Regions from separate parts of the Homo sapiens genome. Here region 1 is linked to region 2. The links are contacts of gene promoters, found by promoter capture Hi-C in human tissues and cell types (Jung and others, 2019). All regions are on one chromosome and are shown on one strand. Each heading gives the region's core, a stretch centred on a gene start or on the middle of the fragment in contact. The rest is flanking DNA. Distances are from core to core; before and after follow the strand shown. Region 1 has its middle 26 kb from the start of PNMA8B. Region 2 holds the start of MYPOP (Myb related transcription factor, partner of profilin).

Region 1 (3,269 bases), core at 512-3,011, 620 kb after region 2:
TGCTTCAGCCATATATTGCTGTTCACAACCCGCTAGAGTTTAGGGGCTTCAAACAATGACTTACTAGCATTCAGAGGGTTGACTGCGTGGTTCTGCTGCTGGTCTCTCCCTCGGTCACTTGTGTGGCTAATGTCAGCTGGTAATAGGCTGATTCTCCCCCACACAGCCTCTCTGCATTCACCTGGGCTTTCACTATTTTGTAACCCAGCTTTAGCTTCCTTGCAAGATGGCAGCTGGCATGCACGTGAGTAAGAGTGGGAGTCTCCTGGACTCTTAAGGCCTAGGCTTGAAATTGACGCATCACTCTGCTACATTCTATTGGTCAAAACAAGTCACGAGGCCTGCCCAGAATGGAGGGGAGGGGAAGTAGACCCCCCTGGTGATGGGAGGAGTGATGCGTGTGTACAGGGAAGGGAGGAATTGTTAGTAGCCATCTTTGAAGGCTGCTGACCTCCGTGTCTTTCTTTCTGTGTTTAATAGTATGCCTAGAATAATAATACCACCTAGAATATTATATAATAATGCCTAGAATATTATAGAAAAATAATATCAGACGTATTATTTTTATGATGATAGATATTTTTTTAAATAATGCAATAAATTGTGGGAAACTTGTTGGTTGGACCAAGAATCTACAGAAATAAGTGAAACCTGGCTGGACGCGGTGACTCATGTCTGTAATCCCAGCACTTTGAGAGGCTGAGGTGGGCAGATCACTTGAGATCAGGGGTTCAGGACCAGCCTTGGCCAACATGGTGAAAACCGTCTCTACTAAAAATACAAAAATTAGCCAGGCATGGTGGCAGGCAATTGTAATTCCAGCTACTTGGGACGCAGAGGTGGAAGAATCGCTTAAACCCGGGAGGCGGAGGTTGCAGTGAGCCGAGATCGCGCCAGCCACTGCACTCCAGCCTGGACGATGGAGCGAGACTCTGTCCCTGTCCCGCCCCCTCCAAAAAAAAGACACAGCAAAAGAAAAGACACAGAGAAGAAGAGAAGGCCAGAGACTGGAGCCAAGAGACATCAAGAGCCCCCAGAAGCTGGAGGAGGCAAGAAAGGATTCTCCCATAGAACCTTCAGAGCCAACAAGGCCCTGCTGGCATCTTTGTTTTGAACATCTGGCCTCCGGAACTGTGAGAAAATAAGCGTCTGTTATTTTTAGCCACCAAGTTTGTGAGAATTTATGACAGCAGCTCTAGAAAATGAACACAGACATAGACAGAGAGAGGGAGACTGATCTGAATGTAGATGGAGATGTGGATATAGTTGCAGATAGAGGATAAGCTACCAATAAGGATATAGCAGCCCCTATGGTGTAGGTATAGATTAGGATAGAGCTGTGGGCGTAGACATGGATATAGACATAAACATCAATGTAGACATAGATATTACTGTGGATATAGACATAGAAGGAGATAAAATAGACCTTGAAGGGCCGGGCACGGTGGCTCACGCCTGTAATCCCAGCACTTTGGGAGGCTGAGGTGGGCGGATCACCTGAAGTTAGGAGTTCGAGACCAGCCTGGCCAACATGGTGAAACCCCATCTCTACTAAAAACACAAAAATTAGCCAGACGTGGTGGCCCACGCCTGTAGTCCCAGCTACTCGGGAGGCTGAGGCAAGAGAATCACTTGAACCCGGGAGACGGGGGTTGCAGTGAGCCAAGATCGCACCACTGCACTCCAGCCTAGGCAACAGAGCAAGACTCCATCTCAAAAACAACAAACAAACCGAAAAAACAGACCTTGAGGAAAGCTTGAGGAAGGAATGGGGTCACCTGGGCTAACTATGGGCCATTGCCAACAGGAGGTCACAGCAGATGTCATGGAGACAGCCTCCTACAAACGCTCCACAGCTAAGCTCTTCAGGTTTTCTGGAAAATCCCAAGTATCAGAAATTGCTTTCTTGGTTGGGCACAGTGGCTAATGCCTGTAATCCCAACACCTTGGGAGGCCAAGACAGGAAGATTGCTTGAGGCCAGGAGTTCAAGACCAGCCTGGGCAACATAGCAAGACCTGTCTCTTAAAAAAAAAAAAAAAAAAAAAAGCTTTCTTTCACTCCTCCAGTCATCCTGCTCTTTTCTAGTTTCTGGATAATCAATTTGACCCCCAAAATGTGAAAACACAATTCATTGTTTTCAGTCAAAAGTTGTATTTTTCTTTTCTTTTTGAGACAGAGTCTTGCTCTGTTGCCCAGACTGGAGTGCAATGGCGTGATTATGGCTCACTGTAGCCTTGACCTCCTGGCCTGTAGTGATCCTCCCGTGTTAGTCTGCCAAGGAGCTGGGATTACAGGTGTGAGCCAGGGCACCCAGACTTCAGTATGAAGTTTTCTCTCCCTTCTCTTACCTTTCTCATATAAATCCTGTTTTGCTTTTGAACGTTGACAACAGTCCTATGACCATCTCCCTCCCCTTTGCATGCCAGTGTCCAAAACAAAATCAGATCCAATGAATAAATATTTAAAAGTTTGTTGTCATTAAAAAAAAGTGGGGACAGGGCACAATCCAGGAGACCTCAACCCAGGTAGTAAGAAGCTCAGAGGCATGTTGTTACAGGATGGCTGAGAAAGCAAAAATCAGGAAGTGGTTTAACCTTTACAGTGACTGTCTATACAGTGGAGGTTTCCAGATTGCACGGGACTGGTTAAAAGCAATCCTCTTATATCATTTGGGGAAGGCAACTTAAGTTTCGTTTATGATTATCAGAGGCATTTGTAAGAAATAACCTAAGCTGGCTGGGTGCGGTGGCTCACCCCTGTAATCCCAGCACTTTGGGAGACTGAGGCAGACAGATCACTTGAGGTCAGGAGTTTGAGACCAGCCTGAGCAACATGGTGAAACCCCGTCTCTACTAAAAAAAAAAAAATACAAAATACAAAAATTAGCAGGGCGTGGTGGTGCGTGCCTGTAATCCCAGCTACTTGGCAGGCTGAAGCACAAGAATTGCTTGAACCCCGGAGATGGAGGCTGCAGTGAGCAGAGATCATGCCACTATACTCCAGCCTGGGTCACAGAGCAAGATTCCATGAAAGAAAGAAAGAAAGAAAGAAAGAGAGAAAGGAAAGGAGAAAGGAAAGAAAGGGAGAGAGATAGCCGGGCGTGGTGGCTCACGCCTGTAATCCCAGCACTTTGGGAGGCCAAGGTGGGCGGATCACGAGGTCAGGAGATTGAGACCATCCTGGCTAACATGGTGAAACCCCGTCTCTATTAAATATACAAAAAATTAGGTGGCGGGCGCCTGTAGTTCCAGCTACTCGGGAGGCTGAA
Region 2 (3,278 bases), core at 432-2,931:
TACTCAGATGACACAGTTCAGTGGCAAAGTTGTGATCGGAGCCCAGGCAGCCTGCCTCCAGAGTCACTACTCGACACTGCATTTAATGAAATCCTGCCTGTGCTGATGACCCCAGGTGTGGACCTGAGTCAGGCCTCCTAAATCTGGTTCCATTCCTGGCTCTTGACAGTTACTAGCTATCGGAACTGAGGCAAGTCATTTCATTTTTCTGAGCTTCAGTTTCCCTAGCTATAAAATGGGGCGAAGGACAGCATCCACCTCACAGGGCTGCAGCAAGGCTTTGATGAGACATGTAAAAGGCTTGCAACAGCGCAGGCACACAGCCTACTCTGAAGACACTCACCTGCACGTCGGTCCTCCCGGCGGTCTTCCGACAACACGTAGCGCTGAGGGCAGGCGCTTGGGGGCGGCGGCTGTGAAGAGGGGGCCGCAGGGGGCTCCTCCGCCCCAGCACCTGCCCCCGGCGCCGCCACACCTGGCCCCAGGATGGCAAAAATGGTCTCCTCTTCCGCGGAGAAAGCGTCCTCCGCGGCGGGCCCGGCGCCCTGCGTGGAGTGCGGCACGCGAGCGAGCTTCTCCTTGGTGCGGCGCTTGAAGTCGTTCCAGCGCTTCTGCACCTCCTGGCCCGTGCGCTTCCAGCTGGTGATACCGTTGATCTTGGCGGCGATGCCGTCCCACACGCGCCGCCGCTCTGCCACGCTCACCCGACGGCTCTGCGCGCCGTAGAGCTGCGGGTAGTGGGCGCGCACCTCGCGGATCAGGATCTGGTTCTCTTCGAATGAGAAGCGCGGCTTGCGCAACCGGGTGGTTTCCTCCGCTTCGCCCGCCGCCGCCGAGGCCATGGCGCCCCCCGACGCCGCCGTCCTGCCGTCTGGCGCATGGGGGGCGCCGGCGCTGCGGGCAAAGGGCGCACGGGGCTGGCTGGGGTTCGGGGTCCCCCCGCCGCCGCCTCTCCCAGACCGCCGGGCCGAGAGCTCCTTAGTCCCCGGGGGCAGGAGTGGGGGCGGGGGGCGGGCGGGGGCGACGGGCACCCGGGTAAGTCGGAAGCGCCTAAGAGTAGCTGACACCGGCTGAGCGCTTGGCTCGGACTTCGCGCGGCGCGAAGTGCCACGCTGAAGAGTTGATAGAAATTGGGGGAGGGTCTGGAGGGATGGAAGGAAAGGAGGAAAAGTGCGAGGAGAGGAGGTGTCTGCAGGAGTTAGAGAATGGGGGCACGGGAGGATAGGAAATGGAGGGAGGATGGGGGTGCCTCGGGGGGGTCTTAGATGCATGAAGATAAGGAGATGCGGAAGGGGGGATGCAGCAAGAAGGGGGGAATCTGGAGCAGAGGAGGCGCTCTAGGGGCTCTAGGGGGCAACGGGGCGTCTGTAAGACCGATATGAGAAGGGCCCTTAGAGGGATGTCCAGGAATAATGGTGAGGTGGGAGCTCCTGTATCACTGGAAGAGCTGGAACGATCAAATATTAGGGATCAGGGTCTGCGAGGATTGTGGGGGCTCTGGGGATTGCCAGAAATTAAGGGGAGCTCTGGAAATAACGGGGGTCCCGTATCACAAGGAGACAACGGAGGCTACGGGGGACGGCAGGGAGAGCGAAGGTCGCGGAGGGTGGGGACCGAGTCGGGCCACGGGTCACTCACCGGCTCCGCCGCAGCCGCCGGTGGGTCAGGGCTCGGGCTTCTGCGGCCTGTTCCCACCCCCCGCCTCCCTCCCTCCCCTCTTTCGGCCCCGCCTCCGGCCGCCCCGCATGCCAAGGCGCAGGCGCGCCCAGGGCCAGTCGGCCCCAATGCCCTTACCGCCAGGGTTTCATTCCCACCTACCCCAGCACAGCGCAGGCGCAGAACTGCGCTCCGCCGAGCCCCACCAGCAGGCCGCAACTGCGCAGCCGCAACGTTAGCGCCGCGCGGGTACCCCAGCTTCCTGGGGCCACAACGGCGCACGCGCAAAAACTCCATCGCGCGCATGCGCGTGCCTCGGGTTGTACCCGGTACCGGGTCTCGGCGCAGGCGTTGCGAGCTTGGATGGGAGAGATGCTGGGAGCGCGCCAGTACCCAACCTTTCGGACAGTCTTCCAGCCCACCCTGCCCTCTAACCAAAGGGGAGGGAGACAGCGCTGAAGGGAAGCGCTTTGTCTCCTTGACAACTGTGTGGGTGGGGTGGAGGCGTGAGGAAACCGCTTTGCCTCCTGGCTTGCCCGCCCCTGCGCTGGGCCGCTCCAGAGCTTCCCACCTCGCACCCCTAGAGGCTGGGCGTCCTGGGGATGTCCCGCCCCGGGCGGATGCAGTAACCATAGCGACCCACAAGCCTTCCAGTCACGCCTTGGGGGCCCCTCTGTGCGCACCTTTACCTCGAGGAGCGGGGAAAATAAGAGGGAAGAGCTTCCTGGCTGGTAGGAAGGGAGATCCTGACGCCGGCACGACTTTAAGCAAGTGCATGGAGACAGGAATGAAGCCAGAACGCAGGTGGGGTGAGCCGCATGGCAGGATGATGGAGCTCAGTCCGGCTGAGAAGTGTGTTCGTTAGCATCCTGCAGGAGTCCTCAAGGTCATTCGACAATTGGTGCTTCATTCATCGACTCAATAAATATACATGAGCACTTACACAGTTCCTGGTACAATGAACATAAAAGCTAAAATCCGTAGCCTGGGCCGGGCGCGGTGGAGCTCACGCCTGTAATCCCAGCACTTTGGGAAGCCAAGGCGGGCGGATTACCTGAGGTCAGGGGTTCGAGACAAGCCTGGCCAACACAGTGAAACCCCATCTCTACTGAAAATACAAAAACTAGCTGGGCATGGTGGTGCATGCCTGTAATCCCAGCTACTCGGGAGGCTGAGGCACGAGAATCGCTTAACCCCGGGAGGCAGAGGTTGCAGTGAGCTGAGATTGCACCACTGCACTCCACCTGGACGACAGAGTGAGACTCCGTCTCAAAAAAAAAAAAAAAAAAAATACATGCCTGTAGTCCCAGCTACTTGGGAGGCTGAGGCGGGAGGATCGCTTGAGCCCAGGAGTTGCAGGCTGCAGTGAGCTATGATCAGGCCACTGCTCTCCAGCTTGGGCAACAGAGTAAGACCCTGTCTCAAAAGAAGAGAGAGAGAAAAAAAAGGCCCCTCTGCCTGCTGTGTGGAGGGTGGGTGGGAGGGAGCAAGACTACTGGGTAGAGTCAAAAAAAGTCATGAGCAGGGGTAAGAAAAGGATTAGGAAAGCGAGGGGAGACTAAACTAAGACAGGGACAGTGTCAAGGGGGACACGGAGAGACATTTGAGAGAATATATGGAAA

The links. The method cuts DNA at HindIII sites, captures the fragments that hold promoters and counts their contacts. A contact is called where the count stands out against the background at its distance.
Region 1: a contact is called between a fragment that was not itself captured here and the fragment with the promoter of MYPOP in region 2, in 2 of the 25 tissues and cell types used here (lymphoblastoid cells and mesendoderm cells).

Annotation. Positions count from the first base shown.
Region 1 is chr19:46,520,523-46,523,791 of GRCh38, forward strand. It overlaps the pseudogene PPP5D1P. Among named protein-coding and RNA genes, the nearest start is that of PNMA8B, 26 kb to the left of the region's middle. RefSeq lists a silencer at 1,568-1,747. The HindIII fragment of the contact is 3,757 bases long and covers 1-3,269 here.
Region 2 is chr19:45,900,932-45,904,209 of GRCh38, forward strand. MYPOP (Myb related transcription factor, partner of profilin) reads right to left here and starts at 1,682. Exons shown (of 3, transcript NM_001012643.4): 1 at 1,639-1,682; 2 at 344-894. The coding sequence starts at 842. RefSeq lists enhancers at 1,445-1,494, 1,925-2,034 and silencers at 1,685-1,734, 2,295-2,374. The HindIII fragment of the contact is 9,891 bases long and covers 1-3,217 here.